Regions from separate parts of the Homo sapiens genome. Here region 1 is linked to region 2. The links are contacts of gene promoters, found by promoter capture Hi-C in blood cells and fetal thymus (Javierre and others, 2016). All regions are on one chromosome and are shown on one strand. Each heading gives the region's core, a stretch centred on a gene start or on the middle of the fragment in contact. The rest is flanking DNA. Distances are from core to core; before and after follow the strand shown.

What was found. Contacts are between HindIII fragments. The CHiCAGO score rates a contact against its expected background, and 5 or more counts as called.
Region 1: a contact is called between a fragment that was not itself captured here and the fragment with the promoter of GOT1L1 in region 2, in 1 of 17 cell types (M0 macrophages). The highest score is 5.2, in M0 macrophages.

The regions. Positions count from the first base shown.
Region 1 is chr8:36,854,536-36,859,251 of GRCh38, reverse strand. All of the region lies in intron 18 of KCNU1 (potassium calcium-activated channel subfamily U member 1), which reads right to left. Among named protein-coding and RNA genes, the nearest start is that of KCNU1, 73 kb to the right of the region's middle. The HindIII fragment of the contact is 412 bases long and covers 2,744-3,155 here.
Region 2 is chr8:37,936,908-37,941,753 of GRCh38, reverse strand. It overlaps GOT1L1 (glutamic-oxaloacetic transaminase 1 like 1), which reads left to right and starts at 1,630. Exons shown (of 9, transcript NM_152413.3): 1 at 1,630-1,839; 2 at 2,873-3,054; 3 at 4,005-4,116; 4 at 4,368-4,477; 5 at 4,697-4,789. The coding sequence starts at 1,725. RefSeq lists an enhancer at 1,608-2,124. The HindIII fragment of the contact is 5,963 bases long and covers 1-1,939 here.

The sequences.
Region 1 (4,716 bases), core at 1,700-4,199, 1.1 Mb after region 2:
AAGTTAATTCTCTAAGAGAATGCCCATATGTTATCATGACATTTAAAACTATGTGGTCAAGCAGCCTCTTTCTAAAATAATGTTCTCTTTTGGCACATTTTAGTTAGAACCAGGATCTCCAGATTCAAATTGACACACCAAGCCATTGACCTGTGAGCATTTCATGGTACTCTGCTGCCATCATCTGGCAAATTGAAGTCAGTAACAGTTGATCATTTGCTGCTTGTTGCTTTAGAATCTCAGTACCAGATTAATAGAGTTCCAGCTGGAGTGGAATAGACTTGGTAATACTGGTGATTGGGGATCAGTATAGGGTAGGAAAAAGAAATTATTCTATTTTAAGAGTAATGAAAGATTCTGGAGAGTATGATGACTACATTGAAGCTAAGAAACTAGATTGAAAATTGAAAGTCTCATTAACTTATCCCTAGATATCATAAAATACATGTCATAGAAGTGGGTAAAATTTGGCATGTCTACAAACATAAAGGCAGAATCCTCCTTTTTATACAGAAATATTTTAGCATTTATACTAGAGCAACTTCCTGTTTTAAAATATTTATAGTAAAGTCATAAAAGTCAGCTAAAAAGGGATGATTATTTATCTTTATAAAACATTTTTGTTTGCAGAATGACAGAAGCATATGCATGTGTGTGCTTGTATGTGTAATTTCTTTTCAGAAAGTTTGGTTTGTACACTGTGTTTAAAGGCCTATATATACTGCATGAAACTATACTAAATTTACATACAATAGGATGACATGTATAGTGAGATTATACTTTTTAGTATATTATCTTGTTCTTTTATATGGGCCCTTCCTCTAATGGGACTTTCTTCCTATTTAGTCAGACTCATCCATTGCTTCAAAAAAGATTCACATTTTTACTGAATGTAAGGAGTCCATGTTTAAATTTCCAGTCCCAAAATAAAGTCTTGAAGACATTTTAAAAAAAAATAATCTTCAGATTCAGGCATTCAGTTGAATTACCCTGTAGAAATAGGGATTTCAGTATGTAGATAACAGGGATTTCAGGAAATTACATACGAACAGTTTTTTTTTTTTTTTTTTTTTTTGCCATCCTTGAAATTGTCTTAGACTTTCAAGGGGAAGTACAAAGATTCACAGAAGATAATGTTAAGACAGAGCCTTTAGTTTTGGGTGTGGAATAGCAGCAGCAGAAGCTTCATAAACTGGCTCCTCAGTGAAACAGCCCTAACTAGTGAAATTATCAAAACATAAACAAACACACATTGAAAATCTCTAGAAATTGTTCTGTGAACATATAGCAAATGAAGAAAACTTGTGGCTGGGTGCAGTGGCTCACGCCTGTAATCCCAGCACTTTGGGAGGCTGAGGCGGGTAGCTCACCTGAGGTCAGGAGTTCAAGAGCAGCCTGGCCAACCTGGTGAAACCCCATCCGTACTAAAAATACAAAAATTAGCTGCATGTGGTGGCAAGCGCCTGTAATCCCAGCTACTCAAGAGGCTGAGGCAGGAGAATCACTTTAACCCGGGAGGTGGAGCTTGCAATGAGCCAAGATCAAGCCATTCCACTCCAGCCTGTGGAACAGAGCAAGACTCCTTCTCAACAACAACAACAAAAACAAAAACAAAAAAACAAAAAACAAACAACAAACAAACAAAAAACAAAACAAAACAAAGAAAACTTGTATTCAATAAAATATACTAAATCTTAGTAAGGGCAGAAAGAATCTTTGGCACTTGAACCACAGACTGCTTCCTTTCCTCCAAACCCAGTTGGGTGTGATAAAAGCTTCATTCTGGACAGGTGTGCTCAAGAATGCAGGGCTCCCCCTCCCTCCAGCTCCCAGTCAAATGCTGTGCTATGTCCCTGTGAGGGACACAGCCTCAGTATTTCTCATCCCCTTCCCACTCTGTGTTGCAGAAACTAAGTTTCAGGTGAGTGTAGCCTAGAGGATAGAGACTGTCTTACTCTTCACAGCTCTCATTTATAGGTGAGGCTCTGTTTAGGTATCACAGGATGAAAACAATGAAGCATTAATCTCCCTGACTCCAGCTCACCCCCAAGGCAGAGGTTTCACAGTGGGAGAAGCAAACAAAGAAAGCCAGAGGCTACCACCAGTGCTAGTGTCCTACTCATAAAACAGGTGTGTCACTTCAACAGAGGAGGTCTTCTTTTCCAACACCACCCACCATCCTGCAAGCTCGGGAGCAATGGCTCAGAGATTTTGCCCAGGAGGAGAGGCAGGCCATAAGAACAAAGAGCTCTGAAGCTCCGCCCAAAGGAATTGATTTTACTTGGAACAGAGTATCAAGAATTTCAAGCCCAAGGGTGCTTTTTGACAACAGTGATTTTGGTGGTAAACAATTAATTAGAGGCTAGTAACTCCATGAGAACAAGATAAACCATAAGTCAGAATTTACCATAGTGAACCAGAAAAAGTACAGTTAATAACCGTTCTCTTAGGGACAGAACAAACTGCAAAGACTGGTCTTAGAAACCACTCTTACAAAGGGGCCCAAATTTAATTGCGTAATACTGTGGAGCAATAGATAACTCAGGCATAATAAAAAACAATAATAGGCAGCCTGCTAGTGTAGTCTAGGAACTGGGTGTGATACTAACAGAAGCGGAGAGCTTACCATAGAGATCAGGGAAAGAGACCATTAAAATGAGCCCTGCTAAAACCACTATAAGCCCAATGGTTGTTAACCACTGTAGTCCAAGGCTGCACTCTCCAATGAGCAACATCAAAAGCTTCAAACTTAGGGGAAATTTATTTTATAAAACAGTTCAGCCAAGTCACTAGCCAACTAACTAAACAACCAGTGACAACAACAAGCCTTGGTTTTCAGAGCTGCTATAATTATCTACAATATCCATTTTCAACACAAAATATGAGACATGCAAAGTAACAGGAAAGCATGAGACATGAAAATTAACAGGAAAGCATGAGCTATACACAGGGTGGGGAAAGCAGGCAAAAGAAACTTTCTGTGCAAGAGTCCATGTCAGAGTTAGCAGAAAAAATATTAAGAGCCAATATTCTAAATATGTTGAAAGAAATGAAGGAAATCCTGATTAAAGAAATAAAAGCATGATGACAATATCTCCCTAAAGAAACATTATCCATAAACAAATACAAATTTTAAGAAGAACAAAATAGAAGCTTTATAGTTGAAAAGTACATTAACTGATGTTAATTATTCACTAGAGGGGTTAATAAATTGGAGACTGTCTCCCCAAATATTAATATGTGTCTACCCAGAACCTCAAAATGTGACTGTTGTGGACTAAATTGTGCCCTACATCACAAAAAATCTTGAAACCAGCACGAGAAAAATGTGGTTTACATGTGAAACAGCTGACTTCTTATCAGAAAAAATGGAGGTTAGAAGGCAATAAGATGTCATTGAAAAGTGCTGAAATAAACTGCCAACCAAGAATTTTATACCCAGGAAAACTATCTTTAAAAAATGAAGACAAGATACCAGAAAAAAAATAAAATAAAAGGTAGAGGAAGGACACGAGATAGGCCGCCCCTCCATAAAAATAGAATAAACTGGCAAAACTTGTGAGAATTATTTTTTTTTCAGAACTCTGGAAACTAACCAACAGGAGCCTTGAAAACATTTAGTCGAGAGAAATAAATAGATAGCAGTAAGAGATATAAGATTTGTGTTATTTTAATTTACACTAGTTTCATCTCCAGCTCCACAGCTCATCGATAGCTTTCAAAACATAATACTCCATATTCTTGGCACTAGAGGGAGTACAGCAGAAATACAGTTCTTCAAAAGCCTTATTTCCAAAGAAGAGTCATTATTTTGACTTGTCTGGTGGTTCCCTGCATAACCCTACTTGAATGGCTTTTCTTTTTCAGCCTCATTTGCATGTATCTAGTGCTACAAGCCTATCCCCAGGGAGTGTTATCAAATATATTAACGTCACATGTGCCTGAGGCAACAGATAGCAGGGCAAATTGAAGACCAAATGAAAGCATAAAAGGAAAACTGAAGAATAAAATGTCTTCTTACTTATAAGGGACTTTGAAAAACTCTGGAATATTACTGGAAATCTAAATGACAATGAAGATGCCCAGAACTGTGTAAAGCTGTATGCATAAGCAGAAAGGCCTGAGAAGTTCCAAAGCTCTCATCTCTAACTGACCTTGAGGTTTCATACAAGCAGAAAATGAAGGCTAAACACAGTTGTCAACTTTACAGCTGACTATTGAAGGCATGCCCCAACACAAACACAGAATCCTTTGACAAAGACTGAGAAACTTCTTGGTTCCAGGTGTTTAACAAAAATCATTGTCCAATTATAAGCTTACCACTAAGTTGAGTAGAAAATTCAATGGCCACAAATGACAGAGAGATAGACTTTGGGAAAGTCTACTGGAGAATCTGATTTCCATAAATAACACACTATAACCTGTGTAATGTCTAATTTTCAACAAAAAGTTATAAGACTTGGAAAGAAACAAGCAAGATAAAAATACATAGGAAAAAGGCTCTCAATAGACACCATCCTTGAGAGAAGCTCAGATATTGTACTTACTAGTCAAAGACTTTTAAAATCAGCTAATTTAAATATATTTGAAGAGCTTTAAAAACCTATATATAAATAACCAAAAGGAATATGAGAATGATGTCTCACAAAATAGAGAATGTCATTAAATAGTTACAAATTTTTTTAAGTAGAAATCTTGGAGTTCAAAGTACAAGAA
Region 2 (4,846 bases), core at 381-2,880:
TGGCTACCCCTGTCAGTGGGGGTGAAACCTCCAGGTGGTTTCTAGGCTAGCTGACTCCTGCCAGCCAAGCACAATTCTCCAGAGAACACAGGCATATAAGCCTTGTCCACCAGCGAAGCAGCAGCTGGGGCCGGGCACATTGGTGGTGAAGGCCTTCTGGGTGAGACATCAACAGTGTTTGCAACAATCATTTAAAGAGTTATTTAACATCAGGCTGGGTGTGGTGGCTCATGCCTGTAATCCTAACACTTTGGGAGGCTGAGGTAGGCAGATCACTTGAGGTCAGGAGTTTGAGACCAGTCTGGCCAACGTGGTGAAACCCTGTCTCTACTAAAAATACAAAAAAAAGCCGGGCGCAGTGACTCACGCCTGTAATCCCAGCACTTTGGGAGGCCCAGGTGGGCAGATCACCTGAGGTCTGGAGTTTGAGACCAGCCTGATCAACATGGAGAAATCCCCCTCTCTACTAAAAATACAAAATTAGTTGGGTGTGGTGGCGCATGCCTGTAATCCCAGCTACTCGGGAGGCTGAGGCAGGAGAATCTCTTGAACCTGGGAAGCAGAGGTTGCAGTGAGCCGAGATCACACCACTGCACTCCAATGTGGGCAGCAAGAGCGAGACTCTGTCTCAAAAAAAAAAAAAAAAAAAAAGAGAGAGTCATTAAACATCAAAAGGAAAAGAAAGCAAGCAATATGCAGACTGACTCTATAGAGGCTGGCTCTTTTCTCCCCTTGGCCTCTGCTGTCTATACTTACTAGTTGGCTGTCATTGAAACTTAACAAATGGCCAGGTGTGGTGGCTCATGCCTGTAATCCCAGCAGTTTGGGAGGCCAAGGCAGGCAGATCACCTGAGGCAAGGAGTTCGAGACTATCGACAAAGTGAGACTCCATCTCAAAAAAAAAAAAAACCAAAAAAAGAAAGAAAAAGAAACTTAACAAACATATGTAGAAGTCTTGGCTCTAGATAACTGAGAGAAATAGGACTGGCTTAGTGAGTTGCCAATTATATTCTAATAATAGGATTCTTTATTAAAACAACTGTGGAAGAAAACAGTGTTTGCTTTTTATTCCTTTTGAAATCTGGGGCACTTTGCAAAATGGAAATCAATGCCTCGACTTGCATTGGTGTGTGATCTGGGGTTTTTGCTTCTGCAGGAGAAGCCCTATCTGGCTTATTGGCTGCCTGCCTTGCCCTATGTCTTTCTTTCTTTTTTTTTTTTTTAATTTGTATAAATGTGTGAAGTACAAGTGTAATTTTGTTAGATGCATACATCGCATAGTGGTGAAGTCAGGGCTTTTAGGGTATCCATAACCCCAACAATGTACATTGTATCTGTTAAGTAATCTCCCATTATCCTTGCCCTGTCATCTAAGGAGTGGGCTTGTTACTTTGGACTGAGCCACCTGGGGCTAGAGAAGAGAAGGCATTGAGTGAGGGAAACGGGCTTGGGAATTCCGGAGATTGTTATCCTGCCCTGCCCGCTGTCTGAGGGGATTCTCCTCAAGTACCCTGGAATGTTCCTGTGGCCCCTGTGGATCGCCACCACAAAGATCATGAGGTTCTGTTGCCCTGGCAACCCGTTGTCCAGCGCCTCTGCACTGGGGCTGCCAAGGTTCCAGGAAGAGGCAGGACTGCCCGGCCCAGCCTTGGAGGAAGACTTCTGGGCAGAAGCGGAACACAGGAGCAGAGACACATAGTCTTGGCTCCAGTTTCGTTTCAGTTATGCCCACCCTTTCAGTGTTCATGGATGTGCCCCTCGCCCACAAGCTAGAGGGCAGCTTGTTAAAGACCTACAAACAAGATGATTACCCGAACAAGATATTCTTAGCCTATAGAGGTAGATGCCTAGCAGTTCTGAAGTATAAGACTTAAGTGATGGTAACTGCCTCTAGGAGGACAGTGTTCCCTGCTGCAGGGGGAGGGGTGCAGCCCAAGCTTCTGTGGGTGGAGAGATCTTTTCTTGTTAACAGAATTACCCAGTGGGGAAAAGTGCAGATAAGGTCCCAGGTCATTCCATGCTCTCTGCCCTTCTCTGGGGGCTTCTAGGGATTTGGTGAGAGCTATGTCCTCTTCCACAACTCTATGCTTGGGGGCCTGCATGGCCATCCCACACTTCTTCAGATTCTTACCTCCTCTCTCTCTCTTTCTCTTTCTCTTCCTGTTCTTGAACCAAGAATGGTTCTCCAGATTGAGCTTTCTGCTATGCAACTGGGGCTCACCACTGTGAAAGTCAGGGTTACCTTTATTTAGCTTCATCTACCTATAACTCTCATTTTGCATATATATATATATATATATATATATATATATATATATATATTTTTTTTTTTTTTTTCTTGAGACAGGGCCTCACTCTGTTGCCCAGGCTGAAGTGCAGTGGCAAGATCTCAGCTCACTGCCACCTTTGCCTCCTGGGCTCAAACCATCCTCTTGCCTCAGCCTCCTGAGTAGCTGGGACTACAGGCGCTGGTCACCATGTCTGGCTGTTTTGTATTTTTTTGTAGAGACAGGGTTTCATCATGTTGCCCAGGCTGATCTTGAACTCCTGAACTCAAGTGATCCACCCACCTTAGCCTCCCGAAGTGCTGGGATTACAGGCCTGAGCCACCAATCCTGGGCTTGTATAATTTTTAACCTTTAAAATGGCATAGGTTTCAGTTGTCTTTTTTAAAAAGACAAAAATAATACACATTCACTAACAGCATATTCTTTTCATCAAGGAGAAAAGAAAAGGGAAAGTTGTATTTTCACAGGCACCTTCCCACAGCCCCATGGAGTCCAGGAGAGATTTGTTTGCAGGCTGTCTGCAGAGCTCAGCCCTGGGGGCCCAAACCAGGCATCTGGAGCTCCCTCTGTGGTTTTCCTCACAGTCTGCATGACAAATGAAGGCCATCCCTGGGTTTCTCTCGTGGTGCAGAAGACTCGACTACAGATTTCACAGGATCCCTCCCTGAATTATGAGTACTTGCCCACCATGGGCCTGAAATCATTCATCCAGGCCTCTCTAGCACTCCTCTTTGGAAAGCACAGCCAAGCCATTGTGGAGAACAGGGTGAGAAGGTGGGCCCTCCCCTGGCTCATTTAGACACAGAGAGTGGCGATCTGGGTCTGCACAACCTTAAACCCGAAGGGGACCTCGGAGGGCCCCCTGGTATTGATAAAAGAGATACCTGAGGCTCAGAGAGTCCACAAGTCCTTAGCCATCGAGTCAGGATCGGAATCTCAGTCCAGTGGTATTCCCACCTGCTCACACTGCTGATTTGAAAGCTCTTTCAAGACAGGAATGATCTGAATTGGAGGTGGTGTTAGTATTCCCATTACTGTTTTATTTTTTAACCTATTATATATATTTTTTGAGACAGAGTCTCACTCTGTCACCCAGGCTAGAGTGCAGTGGTGCCATCTCAGCTCACTGCAACCTCCACCTCCCAGGTTCAAGCAATTCTGGTGCTGCATCCTCCTGAGTAGCTGGAATCACAGGCATGTGCCATCACGCCCAGCTAATTTTTGTATTTTTTGTAGAGACAGGGTTTCACCATGTTGGCCAGGCTGGTCTCAAACTCCTGGCCTCAGGGGATTCCCTGCCTCGTCCTCCCAAAGTGCTGGGATTACAGGCATGAGCTACTGCGTCTCGCCTCCATTACTGTTTTAGAGTGTTATTTCTGTCTATTTCTTTTTATTTTTTAATGTTTATTTACTTATTATTTTTTTGAGACGGAGTCTCACTCTGTCACCCAGACTGGAGTGCAGTGGCCTGATCTCCGCTCACTGCAACTTCCGCCTTCCGGGTTCAAGTGATTCTCCTGCCTCAGCCTCTTGAGTAGCGGGGATTACACATGCCCAACACCACATCCGGCTAATTTTTGTATTTTTAGTAGATACGGGGTTTCAACATGTTGGCCATGACCTCGAGTGATCCACCCACCCCAGCCTCCCAAAGTGCTGGAATTACAGGTGTGAGCCACCACACCTGGCCTATTTGTGTCTATGTCTTGCTGGCAGGTAGGGGGTGTACACACTGTTGGTGACAGTGGTGCCTTCCAGCTTGGCGTCCAGTTTCTCAGAGCTTGGCATAAGGATGCTCGTATAGTTTACATCATCTCTTCTCAAAAAGGTTAGTCTTACCCAAGATGAGGGGAACAGCAATCCCCGTCCCTTGTTCCTAATCCTCACCCCATTTGCCATCTTCACTGTTATCCCTCATTCTCTGTCATGAGCAAAATGGCAGACAAGCCAAGCTATTTATGTCCTTTTCCTGTTAATGTCCCACCTTCAGCCAGTGACTCTCAGCCCCACACTCCAGTACCTCTGTCTCCGTCTCTCTGTTTCCCATGTACCAGCTAGTGGGGGGCTGTGTTCCCACAGAACTGCATGGACTCGTCTTCCAGGACATGGGCTTTACAGTTTATGAATACTCTGTCTGGGACCCCAAGAAGCTATGCATGGACCCCGACATACTCCTCAATGTGGTGGAGGTAGAGGGGCCCCGCTCAGAAACTCCTCCCTAGAGCTGACTTACAGCCTAATGTTCCTCTCCTCCCCACACCTCTTAAGTCATCCAAGACCTTTTCCAGGTTTGAATTTGCCTGGCCCTTCAATGGTAACTAACATGGAGGAGCACTTCACCCCCAAATGCCCTGGGGCCGCCACTCCTGGGTGGGGGTGAAGCCTGATGAGACCGTCTGTACCTGCAGCAGATCCCACATGGCTGTGTCCTTGTGATGGGGAACATTATCGACTGCAAGTTGACACCAAGTGGGTGGGCAAAGTTGATGTCCATGATAAAGGTAAACCCAATCTCCCACCCGACCTTCCTGTCTTTGACTCTCTGCTCTCTCCTCCAT